Linked DNA regions of Homo sapiens: regions 1, 2 and 3 are each linked to region 4. The links are contacts of gene promoters, found by promoter capture Hi-C in blood cells and fetal thymus (Javierre and others, 2016). All regions are on one chromosome and are shown on one strand. The core of a region is centred on a gene start or on the middle of the fragment in contact, and the rest is flanking DNA. Distances in the headings are between cores, read along the strand shown. Region 1 overlaps LOC105371777 (a long non-coding RNA gene). Region 2 overlaps LOC107985072 (a long non-coding RNA gene). Region 3 overlaps LOC105371776 (a long non-coding RNA gene). Region 4 holds the start of KRT32 (keratin 32).

Region 1 (3,317 bases), core at 481-2,980, 560 kb before region 4:
CATCAACTTAGTGCCTAAGACTTCTTGAAGCATTATGGGAAAGCGAGGGTTCTCAAAGTGTGGGCTTCAGACTGGCAGCATCAGCAGCACCCAGGAGCTTGTGGCAGTGCAAATTCCCAGACTCTGATTATCTGGCTCAGAAACTCTGGGAGTGGGACCCCACAATCTGTGGCTCCATCTTAGCAAGTCTTTCCAGTGCTTCGGATGCATGGTAAAGTTGGAGAACCATGGCTGTAAAGTATCAGTAGTCGAGGAGCAGGAAGATATTTCCACTGGTTGTACATTTTAGTTTAGAATGCTTGATCTTGTCAAGCGGAGCCCCACATTGAATCACATGTTTCATAAGGCAGTAATTCTAACTTTGAAAGAAGTCACGATGCTCTGACTAATTTGAAATTTATTTTTATTTCTGAGGGAGATTTGGACATGGAAAGGGATGGCAAGAAGTGAAATGGTTGAAAAAATAAAGAGTATGACATGATCTGGCAATTATTAACCTGGGGAAGTGAAGAGTGAAAGAAGAAGCAATCGAGCCACATGTTATCTCTGTAAATGGTGAAGTGACTCACCCTAGGGCTCACCAGGAACAGGAAGATGTCGTTTCTTTCTTGCCTCCAAGTGGCAAGCAGGGACTGTGTGTCCTTCATTCATAGCTGCTTGAGAATCAATTACAATAGGTGGGATGCTGTGATAGCCAATAGGGTTCAGAAATCAAGACACAGTCCATGATTCCGAGGAGGCGGCAGCCTAGCCGGAGACGGTGACTAATCGGGAATTATATATAATGTTCACGAAAAGATTTGTGGATATAGAGGAAGGATCCCCAAGTAAAGCTGGGTGGGAGGGAGTCATTGAAGTTTTCCTGAAAGTGCAGAGTTTGAGGGAGAGTCCAAGCTGGAAAAGCACAGGGACATGGAGGTGGCCCACGCATCCCTAAAGTGCAGCGATGAGTAACTGGTGGATAAGTCACAGCCCATAAATCTCAGAATTCATCCATTCACTCCACAAATATTTACTCAGTACCTGCTGAGGGCCTGGCACTGTTCTAGGCCATGAGGATACTTCCGTGAGCAAGACAAACACAAATTCCTGCTGACAAGGCTTCATTCTAGCAAAGGGATATAAACCCCATACAGATAATATATATGTAAATTATAAGACAATGTGATGTAATCACACTGGAAAGGTAGAGAAATGGCAACCGGAGGTGTGAGATGGTGTAAGAATCCTGTGATGCCATCTTCTACAATGGGGATTTAGGTCTTTAATGTCTTCTTTTTTTTTTTTTTTTTTTTTTTGAGACGGAGTCTCGCTCTGTCGCCCAGGCTGGAGTGCGGTGGCGTGATCTCGGCTCACTGCAAGCTCCACCTCCTGGGTTCACGCCATTCTCCTGCCTCAGCCTCCCGAGTAGCTGGGACTACAGGTGCCCATCACCTCGCCCGGCTAATTTTTTTTTGTATATTTAGTAGAGACGGGGCTTCACCGTGTTAGCCAGGATGGTCTCCAACTCCTGACCTCGTGATCCGCCCACCTCGGCCTCCCAAAGTGCTGGGATTACAGGCGTGAGCCACCGTGCCCGGTCTTTAACGTCTTAAGTTGATAAAACAAGAAATAGCAGTGTAAGCATATTCCTTAGAGATATGCAGGTTAATACCAGAAACAATAGCTAAAAGATTTCAGAGAGAAACATTCAGGAGTGGGGACACCAGGGGCTGCTATTTTTTACTATGAACCTTGTATAGTATATGATGTATTCATTCATTCACTCACGCATTCATTCATGAATTCACAAGTCTGTGTGAATATCAGTGTGTGCAAGGTTTTGTTGCAGATGCTGGGGATACAGTAGTTAAAAAAACACAAACGTTTCTGCCCTGGCGGAACTTAGATTCAGGGGTGGGAGCTAGAGGTGAAGGGAGTAGGTCAGAGGAGAAAAAGGAAGGGTGGGGAGGGCTGGGAAAGTTGCCCTTGTGTGTAGAGAGATGAGAATGGGCCTCCCTGTGAGAGTGGTATTTGAATGACAGCAGGAAGAAAAGAGCCATATGGCAGCTCAGGTGCAAAGGTCTATAGCAGTTTAGGTGTGAGTGTGGGTGGAGCAGTGGGGATGTGGGGGTGCTCAGGGATGGAAGGGAGGGTGGTGGAAAGGACCTCAGCAATTCGGAGGTGAATGGTGAGGGATGTGGATGCCATCATCCAGCAAGGAACCTGCCTTTTACTCTGTGATATGAGAAGCCACCGAACTTTGGCGATGGAGTAATTCCTTATATCTTTAAAAAGAGGCACAAAGACCACACCTCATAAATACTGACATCATATTAACAGAATAGATAATACACCACTTTTTCAAATGTATCTTTTTTTCTTTTAATCGCTGAGAGGGAAAAGTAGTATCAGTGGCAGCACACACACACACACACACACACACACACGGAAGAAATGGAAATAAAAGCTAAAGAACAAACTAGTAATGATTCGGAGTGAGACCCCTAACACCTCCCGAATGGGGGCAAGAAGCTCAGGACTCTGGTAGCCCAGGCAGAGTCTGAGTAACTGGCGTTGCCTCTCTTCATGCATCTACCTGATCCACCTGTCCTTCTACCCACCCCTCTGATCCCTAGGAATTCTGAGAGCCTGGTATCACCCAGGTACAAGATGAAGAAGTCTATTGTCCCCTAGAGGGTAAATGGCAAGAGGTGCAGTTTAGGAGGATTCTCAGTCTGGGAGGAGAAGCTAGCTGAGAGCTTGCCACAGATGTAAGCAGGAACGCCCGGCTGAAGTGGGAACGAGGCAGAGGCTGGAAGACACAGCAGAGTGCTGTGCAACAGATGCCGCCTGGCAGACATGGTGCTCTCATCACAAGAGACTGTTATTTGGTACTGAAGTAGCCTTCACATTCCATAGAAAAATGTCTTTCTATTTTTTATATTATACTTTAAGTTCTGGGGTACAGGTGCAGAACATCCAGGTTTGTTACATAGGTATTGATGCGCCATGGTGGTTTGCTGCACGCATCAGCCTGTCATCTACATTAGATATTTGTCCTAATGCTCTCCTCCCACAGCCCTCCACGCCCCGACAGTCCCCAGTATGTGATGCGCCTCCCACCCCCCGTGTCCATGTGTTCTCACTGTTCAACCCCAACTTATGAGAGAGAACACACGGTGTCTGGTTTTCTGTCCTTGTGTTAGTTTGCTGAGAATGATGCTTTCCAGCATCATCTATGTCCCTGCAAAGGACATGAACTCATCCTTTTTTATGACGGCATAGTATTCCATTGTGTATCTGTGCCACATTTTCTTTATCTGGTCTATCATTGA
Region 2 (3,530 bases), core at 1,012-3,511, 520 kb before region 4:
AAGATATAGCCTTAAACATATGCTCTCCTTATGTCAGAATGTTCCCTGAGGGTTGAAGTACAACCGGGAAGCTTGATTGGTTCGTGAATTTAAACACTCGTGACTTTATTGCTTACTCCAGTTTTGGTTTTGGGGTTTTAGAGAGATAATACATGGGCTGTCTCTTTTCCCCTCCCTCTCTCTGTTTCCTTTGGTGTGGGAGGAAGAATAATGGTCCCCGAAGGATGCCCAGGTCCTAATACCCAGAGCCTGTGAATAGCTGATGTTACTTGGCAAAAAGGTAATTAAAGTCACAAGTAGAATTAAGGTTGCTAATCAGCTGGCCTTAAAATAGGGAGAGTATCCTGAATTATTCAGGTGGGCCCAAGATAATCATAATGTCTTTAAAAGTGGAAGAGGGGCTGGGCACGGTGGCTCACGCTTGTAATCTCAGCACTTTAGGAGGCCGAGGTGGGTGGATCACGAGGTCAAGGGTTCGAGACCAGCCTGACCAACATGGTGAAACCCTGTCTCTACTAAACGAACGAACAAACAAACAAACAAAAAACCCCACAAAAATTAGCTGGGCATGGTGGCACATGCCTGCATGCCTGCATGCCTGCACACCTGTAATCCCAGCTACTCCGGAGGCTGAGGCAGGAGAATGGCTTGAACCTGGGAGGTGGAGGTTGCAGTGAGCCAAGATCGCGTCACTGCACTCCAGCCTGGGTGACAGAGCAAGACTCCGTCTCAAAAAAAAAAAAAAAAAGGTGGAAGAGGGAAGTAGAAGATTCAGTCAGTGTTGGCGAAGGAGATGTGATGAAGGCAGAGTTAAGGGTGACGAGATGGCTGATGGTGAAGATGGAAATGGTGGACAAGCCCAGGAATGTGAGCAGCCTCTGAAAGCTGGAAAAGTTTGGCAATAAAACAAATCCCCCCCAGGACCTCCAACACTTTGATTTTAGTACACTGAGTCCCAAGTCAGATTTCTGAAATAGAGAACAGTAAGATAGTACATTCGTGTTTTGTGTTATTTTGAGCCATGAAATGCATGTCACTTTGTTACAGTGGCAGTAGAACATCGTAGTGTCTGTGTGTTTGTGGGGGAAACATCCAGTAGGAACTCTGGTGATGGATTTTTGCTGAAGATTTGCCAGGTCTGTCCTGCAGACCCTGGCCGAGCGTCGGATGAAGGGAGTACTGACAACACAGGCGTGCAGTGTAAGAGCAGCTAGGGGTCTGCCGGCACTTAGGGCCAAAGAAGAGAGCAGCTGCGAACAGCTGAAGCTGCTTGCTTTTATTCAGTACAGACATAATGCCGAAAGCCTGGAGCAAACACAATCTGCGGGTAATTAACATTATTGTTCCCCTTTTCAGGGAGCAGTCATGTGCACAGATTATCAAAGGTCGGTTTCTGGACAACCTAAGTAAACAAGCCTGTTTACGATAAATTCCCCTACACCTCCTTGTACCTACTCCTTGCCCTCTGCCTCAGGATCAGAGAACAGCTGCCTTCAGCTTATTCTCCCCTGAAGCTATGCAGAGCCTTCTGAACTTTCAGAAGGTTTGCATCCTTTCCCTATAGTTTCTCCCACCACTCTGACCAATCTCCTACAAAGATTAAATCAAGGTGAATAGAATGTGTTTTCCATGTGATTTATAAAACATATTTTCCATACACATACTTAGTCTAGATCTTTAATTATTAGCGTAACAGCAAAGATGGTTATAGTTACTATATTTCATAAACCCTAAAAAGGCAAATTATAGGTGGATTTTTAAATTTTCAAATTAATATATATGATATACCTCAGAAAATTATAGAATTTAAATCACATTTAATTAAACATTTTACAAATAATTTTTACGGAGAAGCATAAAATTACATAAAAGGAAGGCTGTTCCTGAAGATCCACGGCACGTGGGAACCATCATTAGGGCAAATGTGAATATGTGTCTTTTATTTACAACCAAAGCCTATTTCCCTCCTGATCTCACCCTTTGTCCACAGCTCGTCTTTCATCCTTAATTATTATTTACTACATAGTCTTTGTGTCATTACTACAAAGAGACGGTGCTGTAACTGGGACGCTGGACACGGTCCCTGCAATCTTAGTCCCACTGTACATTCTGTTCCATGTAAGTGAGCTCCAAATGACCTCTTGGTTCTTCTTACTCTGCAGCCACAAAAACATATCCATTTTGCTCCTTTCTCTTTCTTATTTTGTCTATTTCTCCCAGTGCCTCTCCTGAATACACTAATATAGCATCTTCTGTTTTTTTCTGAACCCAACACGTTTGATTTCATTTCTGATTACCATCCCTCTAATTATAATTTGTAGCCTTTCTTAAAAGGGACCCTGTGGGGGTGGGGGGGGGCAGTGGGTGTGGTTGCTCACACCTGTAATCCCAGCACTTTGGGAGGCCAAGGCAGGTGGATCATCTGAGGTCAGGAGTTCGAGACCAGCCTGACCAACGTGGAGAAACTCTGTCTCTACTAAAAAAAAAAAAAAAAACCACAATTGTCTGGGCATGGTGGCGCATGCCTGTAATCCTAGCTACTTGGGAGGCCAAGGCAGGAGAATCACTTGAACCCAGGAGGTGGAGGTTGCGGTGAGCCGAGATCGTGCCATTGCACTCCAGCCTGGGCAACACGAGCAAAACTCTGTCTCAAAAAAAAAAAAAGAAAAAAAATGGAATCCTGGGGGTGGACTTTGGATATTTCATCCTATCAGCCTTGTGTCCTGTTACTCTTGGGATGGGTCAAAACCAGGAAGTCCCCTGCAGCTTTGGCAGCCCACAATTGCTGATGAAGCCACAAATTGTTGGAAACATGAATATCCGGCATTCATTGTTTTGAGCCTATGCTCGCCATGAATATGAACTAGTTAGAAATGAGACCTACACTTTCCCAATGCTTCTCCATTCAAGACCTCTTGGCTTTATATCTAGTAGAGCAGGGCTATACTGTGCCAATCTTCTAGCAATAAACTTCACACAAATCCAACAGCCTAATTGTTGTGGTTAGAATGAGAAGAGATGAAGATGCTGTTGAGTTAGGTCATCTGGTCTCCAAAGCAGAACTTCACAAGGTGATACTTTCTTGTGAAGTCACAGTGGTCTATGTCTGTTCTTAGGCTGGTGGGTTATTAGTGCACCAGAACCAAAGGGATTCTCAGGAGCTGACTCAGAGTAACCTGACTTTTAAGTGCCAGATGAAAGAGACAGAATGCAAACTTATTAATTTAACATTGAAAGATGATCCATTTTGCAACCACAGAGTTCCCAACTGCAAATCAATGCACCTTCTTTGTTGTACCTAAGAATTAGAGAAACCAAATTGTAATATGAAGGCTTTTGTCAAAAATGGAACTAGAAGAGGGATATGGGGTCTTGAGGAATGAGGTTGAAAAACTGCCTCAAGTCCACACGTGCTTAGATGGTGTTCATGAGTTCAGTGTTGCCCCTTCCTGGATTGGGCTGGACACTGTTGTGTTGTGTTTTTAGGGCTCACTTTCTCTTTTTAAAATATTTTCTTAACCACTTGAACC
Region 3 (3,435 bases), core at 936-3,435, 650 kb before region 4:
GTATTTTGTGAATACACATGCAGGTTAGGAAAAACAAAAACTGAGTAAGCTCTGTAGTTAAACAGTGATGTACCAATGCCAATTTTTAAATTTTAGATATTATACCCTAGCCTATAGAAGATGTCTCTATTTGGGGAAGGTGAGTCAGGAGTACACTGGACTCTACTATTTTTGCAATTTCCAACGAGTCTATAATTATTTCAAAATTTAAAAAATGTGATTACACATTTTTTTCTGCTTTTTTTTTACTACTTATATGGATGTTTAAGACACTCATTTGGATTATTTCTAGTATGTTTGTTATGGGTTTAATAGTTTATCATTTACTGAATAAACCTTACTTTCTTAGGGTTTAGATTCTTCCTTTATCATACACTAATGTCCATTTATATATAATCATTTCCTACACTCTTAGTTCCAGTGATGAATTAAATTGTGCTTCAGTTTCTTCATCTGTAAAATGGAGATAATAATAGTATATATGTCATAGAGTTCATTCCTTCAAAAACGATATTTTTGGTACCTAACCTGTGTTAGTCACTGTTCTAGTGCCTCAGGATACATGAATGGATAAAGTAGACGAAGATCAAGCGTTGTCTTTCTGGAGTGTACCGTCTAGCAGGGGAAAAGGATGACTAATAATGAATACATTGTATAGTAAGTTGGAAACAGTGCTGTGAAAAAAAGAAAAAGTGGAAAACCTAGGCAATACCATTCAGGACACAGGCATGGGCAAAGACTTCATGACTGAAAAACCAAAAGCAATGGCAACAAAAGCCAAAATTGACAAATGGGATCTAATTAAACTAAAGAGCTTCTGCACAGCAAAAGAAACTATCATCATGGTGAACAGGCAACCTACAGAAAGGGAGAAAATTTTTGCAATCTACCCATCTGACAAAGGGCTAATATCCAGAATCTACAAAGAACTTAAACAAATTTACAAGAAAAAAACAACCCCATCAAAAAGTGGACAAAGGAAATGAACAGACTTCTCAAAAGAAGACGTTTATGCAGCCAACAGACATATGAAAAAATGCTCAACATCACTGGTCATCAGAGAAATGCAAATCAAAACCACAATGAGATACCATCTCACACCAGTTAGAATGGCGGTCATTAAAAAGTCAGGAAACAACAAATGCTGGAGAGGATGTGGAGAAATAGGAACGCTTTTACACTGTTGGTGGGAGTGTAAATTAGTTCAACCATTGTGGAAGACAGTGTGGCAATTCCTCAAGGATCTAGAACTAGAAATACCATTTGACCCAGCGATCCCTTTACTGGGTATACATCCAAAGGATTATAAATGATGCTACTATAAAGACATATGCACACGTATGTTTATTGTGGCACTATTCACAATAGCAAAGTCTTGGAACCAACCTAAATGTCCAGCAATGATAGACTGGATTAAGAAACTGTGGCACATATACACCAGGGAATACTATGCAGCCATAAAAAAGGATGAGTTCATGTCCTTTTCAGGGATATGGATGAAGCTGGAAACCATCATTCTGAGCAAACTATCACGAGGACATAAAACCAAATACCACATGTTCTCACTCATAGGTGGGAGTTGAACAATGAGAACACATGGACACAGGGTGGGGAACATCACACACCTGTTGTGGGGTAGAGGGCTGGGGGAGGGATAGAATTAGGGGAAATACCTAATGTAAATGACGAGTTAATGGGCGCAGCCAACCAACATGGCACACGTATAACTACGTAACAAACCTGCACATTCTGCACATGTACCCTAGAACTTAAAGTATAATAATAATAAAAAAAGTGGAGCAGATAGGGGAGTTGGGAGATTGGCAGGTAAAATTTTAAGCGGAAAATCAGAGTGGGTCTCAAAGAAAAAGTGACAACTGTGCAAAGGCTTGAAGGAGGTAAGGAAGACCATCTTGTTAAAGAATATTAACCAAGGTAACATCAAAAGAGAAATGGAGAGACATCAAAGAATTTTGATCAAATATAATTAGACTTACAATTTGATCTAATATATTAGACTTACATTTTAAAAGGATAACTATGGTTCTGTGTTGAAAATAAACTGTAGGGTAGTAGCTAAGCTTAAATGAGTTCATATACATGTTATATGTACTGAGTCTACCTACCTATCTGTATCTATCTATCTATCTATCTATCTATCTATCTATCTAATCTATCTATCTATCCATCCACACATTTACCCACCTACCTACCTATCTATCCATCCATCATTTACTCAGAACAATGCCCGGTGTGATTTAAAGGCTATTATTATCATTATTTTCATTGTCAAGCTTAGTTTAACCACAACTACCTCATATAAGGTAGCTATCCCTTATTGTATAGGTAAGTAAACAGACTCAGAAGGGTTGAAGTAACTTGTCCAAAGGTACATAATTTGTAAATGCCAGTGCCAGGATAGGAAGTCCAGGGATCACTGTGTTTCAGTTGCATGCTCATAAACCATGAATAAGCTCTTTCCCTAATTCCCATTCTCAAAATGCAATATAGATGAGAAATATTAGATGCATCCTATTTAACCTTAATCGAGTTACTTCCCTGATAAAGATGACCCTAACAAAGCTATTTCTTCACTCCCAAGCAAAATATCAAGCCATCATGGGCACCAAGATTAGGGTGCAAAGCTTTTAGGCCTTTAGCATCATAAGAGAACATCTTTGGGGAAACAGGATTTTATCGTGTAATATTTTTTGACATGGGTGCCGAATTGGCTCTGCCAATCTAATTAGGCACTACCCTGCTTAAATAGCAGGATTCTGTAATGACTTTAGAATCTGTAAGAATGCATACAGAATTTTTTGATTAATAGGTACATGCAAATTTATTTGGTAAAAATAGTGCCCTGTGCTATTTAATAATTTTTAAAAATAATTCTGTAATTTTTTTTACTATAAATACCAATGTCCTTATTAAAGACAAGTGGCTTATTTAGACAGATTATCTTTATTAAACCATAGTGTTGGGCACTGCGGCATGTGCCTATAATCCCAGCTACTCAGAGACTGAGGTGGGAGGATTGCTTGAGCCCAGTTCAAGACTAGCATGGGCAACACAGTGAGACTTTGTCTCATTAAAAAAAAAAAAAAAAAAGCAAAAACAAACCATAGTTATCCAAGTCCAATCAAGAAAGCAGCTGTTTATCTGAGATAAAGTATTTACTTTATCAGAGAGAATATAAATAATTGTTTAAGGAGGTATTGCAAGATTGAAATGGTAAGAAGACAGGACCACGATGTATGCAGACTTTTCAGGAATGAAAGTTTGGGTCACCATCCAACCACATAGAGGACTCTGACTGCTAAGATTGTGGCCTGGGGGAGGAGGGCAGAATGGGTAGAAGAGACAAACTTAACAGCAAGCACTGCTATCTCATAGTAACATATGTGTACTTGCCTCGTATCAGTGGTATTGAAT
Region 4 (3,237 bases), core at 23-2,522:
AGCCAGTTTGGCATTATCAATGTTCACAACCATCCTGGCATTCTCTGCCTTGGTACACAGAATCTGTAGGCCAAGGCACATGGAGAGGGTTAGTTCAGGATGAGACGAAGCAAGAAGAACCCAAATGAAGAGAAGACAGCAGCAAAGGTAGGATCCAGCAGCCCTGCAGCCATCCCTGCAGAAGGTCCTCTTCCCTGGAACTCTGGGAGATATTTAGCGAATTGCTAGTCCTTGGAGAACTTGAGATGTATTTTTTAAGAACCTGAAGCTTCGTAAATTCAAATTCCCCATTTTGGATGTGCCAAGCAATGTGGAAGGGAAGAATCTCATGTCTGAAGTCACTCATGTGACAGTTAGAAGGGTCTTTGACATTTACTGAAAACTTACCGTGGACCAGGGGCTGTTCCAAGCACTTGACCTGCATCATCTCATCAAATCCTTTTGACAACCCCATTAGATAACGACCATTATTATCCCTGTTTTACAGATGAGAAAACTGAGGCCTGGGGAAGGGATGGGACCCCCAAAGTCATGCAATGAGGCAATGGTAGAACTGAGACTAGATCCCAGATCTCTCCACATGAAAGCCTCAGGCTGAGTGCTCAAATTATAAAATAACCCTATGCCCTAGGGAAGTCTCTTTGTCCTGAACATAGCTTAATAAGCTAACGAGATTCCAATCTGGAATGCCAGCTAGTCCAGTTCCCTTCCCAGAGAGCCTATTCACCTCACCGCTGCCCTCACCTTCTGCTGGAGCTCCTCAATGGTCCTGAAATGAGACTGGTAGTCAGGAGTCATGGTGAGCACCTGGGAGTGAGAGGCCTCTTGGATCCTGCTCTCCAGCTCCGCATTCTCCTGCTCCAGCTGCCGCACCCTCGTCAGGTAGCTGGCCAGGCGGTCGTTAAGGAACTGCATGGTTTCCTTCTCATTGCCATTGAAGGCCCCTTCGCTGTACCAGCTGCCGGGGCCCATGGAGCCGGAGATGCCACTGGCTGCCTGGCAGGAACTGGATAGATAGGTTTTGGAGAGGCAGCTGGCTGGCCGGAAGGTGGTGGGCAGGCAGACCGAAGGCAGGCATGCCATGGGCTGGCAGACATAGCCCAGGCACAGCTCAGGCCGGCAGTTCACGCCGCTGGAACAGACCGAGGCAGGCCGGGGGCAGCTCTTGAGAGAGGCTTGCAAGTTGTTGGTGACACAGCAGGAGGATGTCATGTTGGAGAGGCCCTTTCTCCTCAGCCACAGCTACCTGGATGTCTACAGACCCCATGCCGCCCGGGCCATTTTATGCCCTTGCAGTGAGGGGGCTCATGATAGAAATTCATCATTGGGTGGTGTTGATGTTCACACCCAGCCCCAGAGGAAGCTGCTAATTAATTTGTAATTTGGTTTCCAATAAAAGAGGCCAAACTTATCATTTGGCTAAAGCAGGAGTCTGGGTTCCTGTCATTGATCACCATGAGAGAGCTTCAGGACACATCTTCAAAGGGTCAGCCGCATGCCTGGGCCCTCATTACTAGGGCAGGCCCTCCAGGAGACTGCCACAACCCAGCCTGTGCCTCCACTGGCTTTGCCCACTGCACCCCCGCCTGCTCTAGCCCTGAGAAGCCTGCAGGTCTGTGCAGCAGTGGCTGCCTCTTTTAATGAAAGCATTCCCCATGGGAAGAGGCCTGGCTATTTAACAAGGAAATGTGTGGGTGGTAGAAACTGCTCCGATGCTGGCAGCGGCATAAATCCAGCAGAAAGGAACAGGAACCTCAGAGGCTTCCTAACAGACATCATCTTCCTGCCAAGGGGAAGAAAATAATATCAGTGGGGAGAGAATGAACTCAAGACATAGGCAGCATCACTTCTCAGCCTTTTGGCTAAGATCAAGTGTGGTATCTGTTCTTATCGTCTTAATATCTGATACGTCCTCCATCTGAGGACAACATATTAAATGGATTTTGGGAGCAGGGAGATGGAATAAGAGCTTGCTCTGTTCACTCTACATGTTGACCTGGTATTGCAGTACCTCCAGGAATGCTGCACCCCTTCAAAAGGCAAAAAAAAAAAAAAAAAAAAGACCCAAACAGAAGCCTAAGAATCAGGTACATCTTTCCAGTTGGTCTCTTCCTCTTGGAAAAGTCCATATCATGAACATCTCCAGGTGGCAGCTGCTCTGTCTTGACCCCCTCTGGACCATCCATTCAATTATCACTGCACCATATACACAATTGTCAAGTGCTCAATAATTGTTTGTTGAACAGACTGAGAATAGTTGGAACAGGTTCTACTTTTACTTTCTGTTGTGGCAGATGGGGAAGGCTCACTTCAGGATCTCAGACTATGGAAGCAGTGTGAATCCACTCCCTTGGGAAAGGATGTTCTATAGCCCTGGAATGAGCTAAGCCAGGAGACAGGGAGCATATTTGCCCAACTATAGAAGCCCTGGGCATTCACTTAAGAAGGCAACATGCTAGAGCAGTGGTTTTCAGTCCTGGCTGCAAAAGCTGTGAGCTTCACATTTAGTATGTGTGTGCTATATAGCCACTTTTTTATTCAGTAATCTTCTTGATATAATTTTGGGGTATAAGTACTTGCCTTATGTTTCACATATTCCCAGAAATGTCAGTACAAGAACAGGAAAGGGAAAATGCCACCCAGCTCATTCATTGCATAAGAAAAGGAGAGCGTAGATATACTGCCTCTGACTTGCCATTTGGCCTTGGGAAAGTAATTTTGTCTCTCCAGACCTCAGTTTCTTCATGCCAATCGAGGGGGTCAGATCAAATACTCTCACAATTTGATTCTCTGCAACAACTACAAATTCCAGTACCTTGTCTGGATTACCTATTTAGAGAAGATTATAGCATCAGATGGAAGGAGGTGTGATGGCAATACCAACTACAAGGGATGAGACTCATCAGGCCACCCTTCAGAATCATAGCCAGCACTTGTGGAATGTATACAAATACCAGGCATGGTGCTGAGTGCTTGGCATTAATTTGCCCATTTAATCCTCTCACCCAAAAACTATAATTATTATAATAAGGTGTTATCAGTCACTCTCAGCATCAACCTGACTCAGGAACATGTTAGAAATGTGAGTTTTCACCCTAGAAGAAAGTCTAGGCAATACCATTCAGGACATAGGCATGGGCAAAGACTTCATGACTAAAACAGCAAAAGCAATTGCAACAAAAGCCAAAGTTGACAAATGGGATCTAATTCAACTAAAGAGCTTCTGCACAGCAAAAG

Evidence for each region. Contacts are between HindIII fragments. The CHiCAGO score rates a contact against its expected background, and 5 or more counts as called.
Region 1: a fragment that was not itself captured here is called in contact with the fragment with the promoter of KRT32 in region 4 in 3 of 17 cell types (neutrophils, endothelial precursors and total B cells); the score reaches 7.3 in neutrophils.
Region 2: a fragment that was not itself captured here is called in contact with the fragment with the promoter of KRT32 in region 4 in 9 of 17 cell types (naive CD4 T cells, naive CD8 T cells, total B cells and 6 more); the score reaches 10.3 in naive CD4 T cells.
Region 3: a fragment that was not itself captured here is called in contact with the fragment with the promoter of KRT32 in region 4 in 1 of 17 cell types (M0 macrophages); the score reaches 6.7 in M0 macrophages.

The regions. Positions count from the first base shown.
Region 1 is chr17:40,902,772-40,906,088 of GRCh38, forward strand. The region is part of intron 1 of LOC105371777 (a long non-coding RNA gene); the gene reads left to right. Among named protein-coding and RNA genes, the nearest start is that of KRT20, 19 kb to the left of the region's middle. The HindIII fragment of the contact is 4,098 bases long and covers 1-3,317 here.
Region 2 is chr17:40,948,300-40,951,829 of GRCh38, forward strand. The region is part of intron 1 of LOC107985072 (a long non-coding RNA gene); the gene reads left to right. Among named protein-coding and RNA genes, the nearest start is that of KRT23, 12 kb to the left of the region's middle. The HindIII fragment of the contact is 4,385 bases long and covers 70-3,530 here.
Region 3 is chr17:40,813,399-40,816,833 of GRCh38, forward strand. LOC105371776 (a long non-coding RNA gene) reads left to right here. Exons shown (of 4, transcript XR_934753.2): 4 at 550-730. Among named protein-coding and RNA genes, the nearest start is that of KRT10-AS1, 4.0 kb to the right of the region's middle. The HindIII fragment of the contact is 213 bases long and covers 2,080-2,292 here.
Region 4 is chr17:41,466,114-41,469,350 of GRCh38, forward strand. KRT32 (keratin 32) reads right to left here and starts at 1,273. Exons shown (of 7, transcript NM_002278.3): 1 at 745-1,273; 2 at 1-63. The coding sequence starts at 1,212. It also overlaps the pseudogene RNU2-32P. The HindIII fragment of the contact is 3,316 bases long and covers 267-3,237 here.